Linked DNA regions of Homo sapiens: region 1 is linked to region 2. The links are contacts of gene promoters, found by promoter capture Hi-C in human tissues and cell types (Jung and others, 2019). All regions are on one chromosome and are shown on one strand. The core of a region is centred on a gene start or on the middle of the fragment in contact, and the rest is flanking DNA. Distances in the headings are between cores, read along the strand shown. Region 1 has its middle 11 kb from the start of LINC02530. Region 2 holds the start of SMIM13 (small integral membrane protein 13).

What was found. Contacts are between HindIII fragments. The study calls those that stand out against the background at their distance.
Region 1: a contact is called between a fragment that was not itself captured here and the fragment with the promoter of SMIM13 in region 2, in 1 of the 25 tissues and cell types used here (spleen).

The regions. Positions count from the first base shown.
Region 1 is chr6:12,593,204-12,598,742 of GRCh38, reverse strand. No RefSeq gene overlaps it. Among named protein-coding and RNA genes, the nearest start is that of LINC02530, 11 kb to the right of the region's middle. The HindIII fragment of the contact is 5,512 bases long and covers 175-5,539 here.
Region 2 is chr6:11,091,726-11,098,205 of GRCh38, reverse strand. It overlaps SMIM13 (small integral membrane protein 13), which reads right to left and starts at 4,372. Exons shown (of 2, transcript NM_001135575.2): 1 at 3,817-4,372. The coding sequence starts at 3,892. RefSeq lists silencers at 1,746-1,825, 3,903-4,212 and enhancers at 3,683-3,802, 3,683-4,224, 4,473-4,682, 4,225-4,765. The HindIII fragment of the contact is 6,020 bases long and covers 465-6,480 here.

The DNA.
Region 1 (5,539 bases), core at 1,681-4,180, 1.5 Mb before region 2:
TTTTCAAGTAAGTAAATTTAAGGTATTCCAGGCTCAACTTTAAGCAGAAGCAAAAGCACGAGGTTTGAAAACCATGGCATGATTGAAAAATCACGATGAAAAATCTTTCCAAGTGTATGCTTGGTGGGTAAGGAAGGGGAGGAGACATCAGAAAAGTATATTGTGAAAAGTCTTAAATAATTTGCTGCATCACAGTGAGAATTTTGATTAAGGATATGGACTTTCTTCTGAAAGCATTGAGGAGCCGCTCAAGTGTTTTAAGAAGGATAGCAGAGAGATAAAATTTATCGCTTAGAAACATCACTCTTGCACAGCTTTAAAGAATTGGAGGGTGGCCAGAAGAGGCAGAGAGATGCATTAGGAGGCTTTTATTCTAAACCAGGTGGGAGATGAGGATGGCCAAAGCTGAGTAGTGACAGTAGATGGGATGTAGAGAGGAGGTTAGAATTGATTAATGTTAGGAAGGAAGATCTAACATAAATTGCTGTTGGTTTGGTGTGAGAAGTCAGAGAAAGTAATCCCTACAAGTGAATAAAATTGCTTGGGAAAGGTAATGGAGTGAGAATTGGGTCAAGGTCTGAACCCTGGAGACTACGAACATTTAAGGGATAAGGACTAATAAGTCAGGAGGAGACAGCTAAAAGGAAGGGAACTGGTAAAGAGTCAATATTTCAGAAAGGAGAGTATTCCATGAGTATCTTACTTAGAAAGGAGAGCATTCTAAGAAGGAAGAAAAGATCAGCAATATACAATGGTGCAGAAAGATCAATTAGAATGAGAATTAAGATGAGTTCATTGATTTTTCAATGAGGAGATTAATAAAACAATCTAAGTACTGGTAGGGGAAAAACAGATTGGGATTATTTTAATAAGAGTTTTTCTGTGTGTGCGTGTGCATGTGTGCATATGCATGTTTGCTTTTTGAAATGGAGAGGAGCTGAGCTTTTGTTCATGCTGAACCTAAGGAAGAGGATAAAGATGCAAAGATAATGGAGATGATGATTTCATAGCTTCCAGGTGAGATGTGAAAGGTCCAGGTCTCAGTGACTTGAAGAAAGGCTGGGTTTTATCTAGGAGGAAGAGGGAATACATTTTCCTATGAGACCAGGTGATGGGGTGGAGGGAGATATGGATGGATAGGTGATGGCAAAAATAAATGGAAGATTTTCATGAACGGTGGTCTCTCTTTTTTCGAGAAACAGAAAATTAGTTTATTTCCTGACAGTAAATAGATATAGGGCAGCGTTGAAGGCTCAGCACTACAAAGTATAGAGTTAGTGACTCTGAGGAAGAGTTGAAAAAAGTGCAAGCAATGTTTGAGTGTTCATTTGAGTTGGGAATCACAAATGGCCCTGTCCTGCTCCACACTACTGCCTCCTTTGTGAATGCTTATTCACTCTTCAAAGCTCACATTAGATGCCATTTCCTCTAGCATGTTATCTGTTATAGAAGCCATCCCTATAACTTACTCACTTTTGAATCGCTAGGTTTGAGTAAAGTGCCTGGAACACTGCAGCTGGTCAATAAATGTCTGCCCCAGGAACACACATTGCAAGGAAGAGCATGAGCGAATTCCCAGAAGAATGGCTAGAATTAATTTAGATAAAATGTTTTAATCAGAGAAATTCATCTTCATCTTCTTCCCACTTCTCTTCTCTTCCATCATCTTCTGTCTCCTGATGTCTCTGCCATCTCTCTTCAGCTCCACTTCCCGTACCCATCAATAGCCTTCCCCTTCTGAAACAGTCATCTTTGCCCTCAGCTGACTATATTCTAATTTGTCCCAAACACCACCTTAATAATTAATCCAAAAGTCAACAACACTTAAAATAAGACTCCTCCCAAGTGTATTTGTTTTAAAAAGGAGAGACACTACTATTTGCCTGGAGAAGCAAATGAGCTCAAATATTACAGAGAAAGAATCCATCCTGACACGTGGAAGCCTTCCTTCTGGGTGGCTTCCCTGCTAATAGGCTCAGCTAGTTTCTCAGGGAGGAAGCCACCATCACCACATTTTTCATTCTGGGAAAGAGATGACCTTGCTCATTATTTGGAGGAGTAGGGAAAAAAATAAACACTTGGTACATTGCCTTAATAAAAATTGAACAAGCATGTATATGAGGGACAGCCATGCTCTAAAACACAAATTGTATGTCTCTCTTCCCTGCTCCATGCTAATCTCTGTCAATACTTTTCACCTCTCTGTAAATGCTCCACTCTCCTATGACCTTTGCTGGAGTCTGTGTTGATAGGGAGAGATTTTTGTAGGTTTGCCTGCCATTCTCCTTTATGTGTATTATTAATGTCAATACTGGGTCAATATTCCTTTTGCCATGAAATGTCCAGTGAAAGTCTAACATATCAATTGATTACTCTTGTATGAAGCAACTAAAAGGGAGAAATGAAGTGCTTATATAGAAGAAAGACATCCTTAAAACCAAGAAAAATTAAGGCATCACTGATAGTATTTACTGAGCCATCAGAGTGGGTATTCATCAGTTTAAACCTCTTGTGTGAGTCTTTTTGCTGACAAATACGTCTTGGATATGATGCAACTTTTTACAATTAATTCTAGGTGATCCTCCTGCACCCAGGAAATCTGTGTGCAGAGCTTAGCATGCCTGGGACCAGTAAATAAAGTTTTCCTCCGTGCAACTAAACCGTTTGATTGCTGTTATTGATCTTGACCACCATGAATAAATTTACAAATAGCAGGTTGTTTTTTTCTCCTAGGGTGTCTGATTTTCTGCCCATTCTCTTGAGTCAAATTACATTGTTTATCTCCTAGTGACTCCATCATTTATGTTTTTCCTGGGATCTCCAAAAGCTGAGAAATACTCAAGGCTGGGTTTGCCTGAAGGATACTGAAATCTGCTCATTTGAATCTCCTTCCTCCACGAGTTTCTTATCTGGTCCCATCCACAAATTCACAAAGATGTTGCATCTGGGGGGAATCCCAATTAGATCTTACCCATCCCAATTTAGCCCGTTTCGAAATCATAGATGCAGGAAGAAAACGGAACCACCATCATTATAACTTGTAGTTTCTTGGTTTCTGTGTGACCTGTTACTTTTTCTGCTTACTCCTTCCTCTGTTTAACTCTACATCGCTTCCCCTTTTTCCTATAGACTGTTATTTACCCTATGGTTATAGGCAAATTGATATTTCAAAAGAAAGGAAAAGAGAAACAAAAGTTCTGCACCTTGTTCCTCCTTTAAGGACAACGTTTGCAAAAACAGTGACTTCTGAGCTGAGACCACGTGTTGGAGCAACTACCTCACGGGACCACTTTGCAGGACCGCAACATCTGCTTGGGATGGTCTGGGTTCAGCCTTATGTGATCATCGTTCCTAAAAATAGTTTCTTTTGTTTTGTTAATAAAATTAGAGAATGCTGATAAAGTTCTCTTAAAGGGTCAAAAGAGGAAAGCTCATAAATTACAGCATTCCATTAATGAACAAAGCTACAAGAATGCAGATTGAGAAACAGCAAAAATTACAGGTCACAAGCTCTGTGATGTGAAAGAGTAGGAAGCTTCCAGCCTTTCCTCCACAGGCAAGATGAAGAGCTGGAAATGAACTCACCCTAATCTCTAAATTAACTTAGATAATGCCAGTTCCCATATATCTTTTACTTATCTCAGATGAAAATGAAATTGAGGTGAAAGAAAGCCCAGGCATGCTCTTCAGAAGCTCAAAGCAGAAGAAAAGTTGGTCAAAGAAATTACTACTTCCATTGTGTGTTTCTTTGTATAGATCTAAATAAACACAAAAATAATTATCCTCCTCCTTCTCTCCTTCTTTTCCTCTCTTTAATATTTTTTTTAAAAGTTTTACCACACTTCTTTGCCAATTAGAGCCACAGCATCTAAGCCCTAGATAGTCCCTTTTTAAGAGGTCTTCCTGCATGAGCCCTTCTCCTCCCACAGCACATTACATTTCTTCCTTTATGTACGGGTTAACCACATTATTTATGGTCAAATTGGGACACTTTTGAAAGTGAAAGAAGTGTTACAGTAGGTAGTCAGGCAGAGATGAGCAGAGCAAGAGAGGCTTCCCCACTCCCCCGCATGGGAAAGTCAAACAACCGTCAGGTGATGGTCAGGCAGTTGTCAATTGTCTCTCTAAAACAATCATTGGTTGCAACCCATGCAGGGAAAGGCAGTCTCTCAATAGAAACACCTGAAACTGGTGATCAGCAGCTTCCCAGTAAGATCTCAGGAGCTGGGCAAGTGGGCTGACACCTGTAAACTAAGAGGCAAAATGGCAGAGTTTAACTGGATATGACCTTATGGGAACGCTCGACTGATAAGGGAAGAATGCTTCAAGTGAGCATGCGCACAACTCCAGTAAACACACGGCACCTCCCCTCCCAAGAGCTGGGAGGTCACTGCTCATGCAGACAGGCTGCCCTAAGGAAAGGCTCAGGGGAGAAGAGGCACAACTCCTCAGAAACGTGCCAACATATAAAACCCCAAGTCAGAAGTCAAATAGCGCTCTTGAGCTCTCAAGTTGCCCACGTGGCCCTCTTGCAAGGGTGCTTTATTTCCTTTTGTTCCTGTTCTGAAGCTGTTTAATAAGCTTTCACTCCTGCTCTCAAACTTGCCTCGGTCTCTTACTCTGCTATAGGCCCCTCAGTTGAATGCTTTCTTCTGAGGAGGCGAGAGCTGAGGTTGCTGCAGACCCATACAAATTTGCTGCCACTAACAGGAGTGCTGTTAATGATTACTCTGGGACAGGAATACATAGCGGGGGCGATTGCAGGCAAACTGACACTTAACATTCACCCCACTTCCAGGTACCCATTCAGCTGATTCAATGCTGGTTTCCACTTGCTGACCTGCTGCTTTTGGAGTCCTTCTCAAGTTGCTTCTTATGCGTCAACTGGGTGGCAAACTCAGTGGCCTCTCCTCTAGGATTCCCCTCCCTTTCACACATAGGCAACATCTCAGCAAATGCTTTTCTTTCTCAAGGTCAAGGGAAAACATTCAAAACATCTCTTGTGAAAGTTATGTATTTAAAAGGCTGAAACCTGAAAAGAAGAGTACTGGTGTACATGAAAAATCTCTCTCTGGATAAATGCTTGAGGAGACGGATACCCCATTCTCTGTGATGTGCTTATGTCACATTGCATGCCTGTATCGAAACACCTCTTGGAACCTAGAAATATATACAGCTACTACATACCCACAAAAATTAGAAGTTAAAAATTTTAAAAAAAAGAAAAACCTCTCTCCTACTGGTCTGCTTGGTTCTGATCCTGGTTCTTTGGCAAAGCTTTTTTTACTTCTGCTTTTTTTTGGCAACTAGGTAGAACTTCAGGTAAAATAAAACAAATAAAAATGTATTGTGAAATATACAATATATGCAAAGGAGACTATGAAACGTTTATGTGCCATTTAAAGAATAACACTTAAGAACTAGAATATTGCCAGTATTTCAGAACCACCTTCCTCACCTAGTAAATCTCCATGATCATGTCCTCCTTCCCCTTGACAGAGGTGACAGCTCTCTTTAATTTTCTGTCCATTATTACCAG
Region 2 (6,480 bases), core at 3,123-5,622:
GCCTAGGAATCTGAACTTTGGACATCAGAATTCACTAGGTGAAGGAGTCTGTCAGAGCTCTAGAGAAAACTACATAAATTCCTAGGGACAGGAACTGTGTTCCCAGTTCCTGGTAGACACTCAATATTCAGTTTGTTGAACTGAATGAAATAAGAAAACAGGAGACCCAGCCCAAAGAGCAGAGCCTCTTGATCTGAACTCCATGTTTGTATTCAAGGAAGAGGAGTCCATGAAATCTCAGAAATTGGGTGGGGGGGCGGCGAGCAGGGAGCAGATAAGTTATGTGGGTGAATTTTTCTTTTTTAAAAAAAAAGAAAGGTTCACAGCATTTACCAGACTCTCAAAAGGGCTTGTGACCGCTAGAAGGGTAAAAACAACTGTTTTATGGGCATACAGCTACTCCCTAGCTTTCAGCCAGTGCTAAAGACATGGTGCTTGTTATAGAGTGAATCGTGTGCCATCCAAATTCATATGTTGAAATCCTAACCCCCAGTGTGACTGTACGGTATTTGGAGATAAGGTTTTTTTTTTTTTTTTGAAACGGAGTTTCACTCTTGTCACCCAGGCTGGAGTGCTATGGTGCAATGTCGGCTCACTGCAACCTCCACCTACTGGGTTCAAGCAGTTCTCCTGCCTCAACCTCCTGAGCAGCTGGGATTACAAGCATGTGCCATCATGCCCGGCAAATTTTTGGTATTCTTTTTTTTTTTTTAGCACAGACGGGGATTCGCCATGTTGGCCAGGCTGGTCTCGAACTCCTGATCTCAGGTGATCTGCCTGCCTCTGCCTTCCAAAGGGCTGGGATTACAGGCATGGGCCGCCATGCCCGGCCTGCAGATAAAGATTTTTAAAGAGGTAATTAAGGTTAAATAAAGTCATAGGGTGAGGAGCCATAATCCAGCGACTGATGTCCTTATAAAGAGATTAGAACACACAAAGGAGAGACTATGTGAAGACATAAGGAGAAGACCACCATCTACAAGCCAAGGAGAGAAGCCTCAGGAGAAAATCAACCCTGCTGATCTCTGACTTTTAGCTTCCAGAGCTGTAAAAAAATAAATGCGTTTGGCTGGGCATGGGTGGCTCATGCCTGTAATCCCAGCACTTTGGGAGGTCGAGGTGGGCAGATCACCTGAGGTCGGGAGCTCGAGATCAGCCTGACCAACATGGAGAAACCGCATCTCTACTAAAAATACAAAATTAGCCAGGCACTGGGGACGGGCACTGTGGCTCACGCCTGTAATCCCAGCACTTTGGGAAGCCGAGGCGGGTGGATCACCTGAGGTTGGGAGTTCGAGACCAACCTGGCCAACATGGAGAAACCCCATCTCTATTAAAAACAGAAAATCAGCTAGGCGCATGCCTGTGATCCCAGCTACTCAGGAGGCTGAGGCAGAAGAATTGCTTGAACCCGGGTGGCAGAGGTTGCGGTGAGCCGAGATCACGCCATTGCACTCCAGCCTGGGCAACGAGAGTGAAACTCCAACTCAAAAAAAGAAAAAAGAAAAAAAAAAGCAAAACAAAGAAAAGAAATGAGTTGTTTAAGCCACCCACCAGTCTCTGGTATTTTGTCATGGCAGCCCTGGCAAACTAATATCGCACTCCAATTTCTCTCTTAAGTCTGGTCTGATCCTTGCCTCCTCTCCCCAAGTTCCCGCCCCATCCTAGTCAAAAGATGAGGCTACTCCATCATCAGTTCTCCCAACAACAACAAAAAAAGTATTGATCACTTCATCATAGAGCTTTTAGTTCTTGACTATTCCAAAAACTAAGGTGTCCTAGCACAGGGCTCTCCAGCCCTAGCACACAGATCCCTCCTCCCTGCAGGAGGCAAGTATTACCATCTGAGCTCCGCCTCCTGTCTGATCAGCGACATACCAGATTCTCATAGGAGCACAAACCCTATTGTGAAATGCACATAGGAGGGATCTAGGTTGCTCGCTCCTTATGAGAATCTAACTAATGCCTGATGATCTGAGCTGGAATAATTTTATCCCAAAACCATCCCTGCTCCGTCTGTGGAAAAATTGTTCTCCACAAAACAAGTCCCTGGTACCAAAAAGGTTGGGGACTGCTGTCCTAGCACACCTCATCTCTCTTATTCCTTAATGTTTCTGAAACTAAAAGCACTTTTAGAAAAATGTGTATAATTAAACCATCAAACAGCTGTTTAGAGATGAGAGAGCAATTTGGATTTCTGAAGCCATAAAGGTAAATTTGGCAAATATCCTAGTGAAGGTATGGTAGGGTCTACGTGTCACATTCATTCCCATGTCCAGGTAGCTCGCATTTTCAAACTAGAAAGGGTAATAAATGCTTTCCCTCCTTCCCCACATCCAAACATATCACAAGGATTTTGTTTTCCTTACTTCAAGAACCTTAAACATCTACAATTAGTTCAATATTCTAATATTCTTCTGCTTGTTGATATCACAAGCAGAAAATTGAGAAAGGTTATTCAATTGCTTTATCTCATCAGAAAAGAAAGGCTGTAAATTAGAAGCTTTAACCTGGTGTTACAGAAAAGCACAACAAATTTTAAACATACATACAAGGCCGGATGCAGTGACTCATGCCTGTAATCCCAGCACTTTGGGAGGCCAAGGCGGGTAGATCACATGAGGTCAGGAGTTCAAGACCAGCCTGACCAACACGGTTAAACCCCATCTCTACTAAAAATACAAAAATTAGCTGGGCATGGTGGCGGGCACCTGTAATCCCGGCTACAGCTACTCGAGAGTCTGAGGCAGGAGAATCACTTAAACCCAGGAGGCAGAGGTTGCAGTGGGCCAAGATCAGGCCACTGCATTGCACTCCTGCCTGGGCAACAAGAGCGAGACTCCATCTCAAAAAATAAAATAAACATATAAGTTTATAAATACATACACATGCATATGCACAAGTGCACACATATATTCCACAGCGTCACTAAGTATTAATTTGTACATTTATCGTGTAATGAACAAGCCCTATAGTATCTGTATGAATTCTGACCCATTATTACATCAACCTGAACCCATACTTCAGTCTTATAAATATGTGTAAACTCACTGACACGTGTTCTACGTACTTTTTAGATTTTCACAATTGCTTAGCCACTTTGCTAAGAGACCTGTGGTTATCAGCTACTATACATGTACAAAGAAATCAAAAAGATCTAAAATTGGGCTACCATTATTTGAAGAAAAAAGTTGAACGTCCTCTCATTCCAAGAAGGAAAATACGCACAGCATTCGAAATAGCACCATTATTATAGAACTGAGAGTTAGGTTACCCGACCCTGCAAGTTTAATATAGCCGGTGTTTCTAAGCTCTGCCTGGTCTCCACATCTCTGCTTGGAATTGAGTTTAAGGCTGAACTCTAAGTAAACAATTTCACGCGTGCTGAAAACCCAACTCTACCCCACTCGCTGATGAAACGAAGGTGACACCTCTCATTATTAAGGTCAGAATCTGTGCAAATGAAAAAGGACCAATCAATCACTTCACCTTCGAATGCAGGCCAAGGTTACAATCTGGGCAGCCTGTGGTGAGAATGAAAGAGCAGACGCTGCCGGTGAAGCAAGGCTGAGTTTCACTCAGAGGCAGGAAGCCCTGGAGCCTGTCCTTTCCCTCCCCAGGATGCCCGAGGGCCGGCCATGAGTAAAGGGCCCACCTCTGCGCTCAGCCCTAGAGGCTAAGGGACAACAGTTGATTTTAAGACAATTGTCCGTCCACGCCCTTTTGTTTTTTTCAAAAAAACAAACAACAAAAAAAACCCCAGCAGATCAGCGACCCGGCGTGTGGAACTGCCTCGCGGCTACCGCCCCCACTCACCGCACACCATCAGCAGCAGGACGATCAGCAGCGTGGCCACGAACACAAGCAGAGTCAGCCCGACGCTGTGCCACATCTTGGGGGCAGAAGGGCAGTCGGCTCGGGGCGGCTGGCGCGGACGGCGGTGAGCGCGGGCGGCGGCGCGTCCTGCGCTTCAGCGGCGGGCGCCAGGCGCGGCTGGGCGCCGGGGCGGCATGGGCGGCTGGCGCCCCCTCGGCAGCGCCCCCAGGGGGTGGGGCGGCGCAAAGGCGGGCACTGTGGGACCGCCCGCCCGCCCGATCCTTTTCCCGCCGGGGTGGCCAGAGCGCGGGAGGCAGGCGGGCCTCAGGGCGCCTCTAGTCCCTCATCGCCCCGGAGAGCCGAGGCCGCGGCACCCAGAGACCCCAGCGGTCGGATGCGCTTCCATGGCGGACGCCGCGCGCCTGTAGGGAGGACAGAGGGTAAGCACGGGTACACACGGCGGCCACAAGGCCCTCGTCGCTGTCCACCCGTGTCTCTGAGACCCCAGGGATGCCAGATGTCAGCGTCGCCCGGCCGCGGCTGTAGCGGCTTCTCCGCCCCAGGCCCCCTACCGCTGGGGCAGCTCATCACCAAGCTCGCCTCCTCCGCGGCGCGGGGTCGGCTGGGAGATGGAGTGCAGAGCCTGGTGGAGTCGGGACGGCGTTGTCTCGCAGGGACTACAACTCCCAGAATGCACCGCCACTCGGGCTTCGCTGCTTTCATTCTCGGGCGGCTCTGCCTTTGGTCTTGCTCAAGTCGCCTCAGTCGGACGACCGTGGGCTGGCCTTCTCCAAAGCCGCGGATCTGGCTGCCCGTCCTGCTGAGGCGCCAGTGAGATTTCAACCATTACTCCGTATACAAAGTCGTTTTGTTTCTAGCCGTAATCGATGAAGTACGGCGAGAGAGGAAAGAGGAGGCGGCTGCCTGAAAAACTGGTTGCTCGTGCACCTAGCCCTGTTGCCGGGGGCGAAGGTTGGCTATTTGGGACTTGGAGGAAGAACTCAGGTCCCTGCCGCAGACGCGGGTCAGGACACGAAATCTCATTTTCCCCCTGCAACAGATGTTATGTTCTATCTTTTCGTAAGTAAAGCATTTCAGAAATGGCCCGCGGGTGACTTAAGGACAGCTGCACTGCCCTCAAATCACCTGCCTGAGTTGTAAGTTAGACCCAGCTGCCTCCTTGAGACCAAGCTTGGAGATTTTGCCGCACTGGCTTACACCTCTACGAAACAAGACACTGTAGTAATCTCAACTACTGTATCTCCACCCAAAATTGAAACTCCCCACTTCCGCCAGATTACATTCATTTGTTAAAGAGGTGCCCCCAGAAGAATAGAGGGTAAATGTGTCCCTCTTTTAGAAGGAATCAGAGCCTTCGAGTTTTCCTGTGATTCTTTTGCTCCCTGAGATACCTTTTTACTCTTCTAAAAATTACAGTTTCCTGTCTTCTGTCTCCAAAAACAAACACAAAAGTTCTAAGCAGCAATCCCTTGATTTAATAAATGTATCCTGCCATACCCAGCTGCCCTACTATGTGAACTGTATTCCCTAAGAAGCAACATTAGGAACAAATACCATGTATAAAAATACATTAAAGGATAATTACTTGCTTTGCAACAGATTTAATATAGATTCCTGTGAAGAGAATGAACCCAGTGCAATTAAGATATATTTACAAAAAATCAGTGTGTGCTTTTTTCATGGGTGGTTCAATTATGTTGCATAATTAAAACACATTTTATTAAAAGCCAGTTGAAAATACGCGTCAGGGCTAGGCGAGGTGGCTCACGCCTGTAATCCCAGCACTTTGGGAGGCTAAGGCGAGCAGATCACCTGAAGTCAGGAGTTCGAGACCAGCCTGGCCAACATGGTGAAACCCTGTCTCTACTAAAAATACAAAAATTAGCCGGGGGTAGTGGTGGGCGCCTGTAATTCCAGCTACTCAGGAGGCTGAGGCAGGAGAATCGCTTGAACCCAGGAGGCCAAGGTTGCAGTGTGCCGAGATCACACCACTGCACTCCAGCTTGGGCAACAGAGAGACTCTTATCAAAAAAAAAAAAAAAAAGAAAAGAAAAGAAAACAGCCATCGGAAGAACTAAAATAATTTATTTTAAAGGACCTTTTTCTCTTTGATTCACATATATTGGAATACCTATAGGGGCCAGGCACTGTTCTAAGTGCTGGGGATACAGCAGTGAATAAGACAAAGTGCCTTTACTCAAGATGCTTATATGACAGTTGGAAAAAAACAGACAATAAGCATAAATAGAGAAATCTCAGGAACTGCTATTAATAGCAAGACAGTGTGATAAATGTAGGTGTGTTATTTTAGCTTGTTGGGGGATCAGGGAAGGTCTTCCTGAGGAAGTAACATTTAATCTGAGTCCTGAATGACAACAAGGATTCATGGAAAGACCTAGAGAAGAACATACCAGGTAAAGGGAACAGCTAGTGCAAAACCCACAAGAAGGAAATAAACCTGGCCATTGCTCTAAGCCTTTTCAATGTTTCTCAACTCTGGATGCACATTTCAAATCACGTAGGGAGATTTATAAATTACGAATGGCTAGACCTCATCCCCATACCAAATGAACAGAATCTCTGGGAGTAGGGCCTAAGCATGGTTGTTTTTTATTTTTGTTTTTGAGACAGTCTCATCCTGTC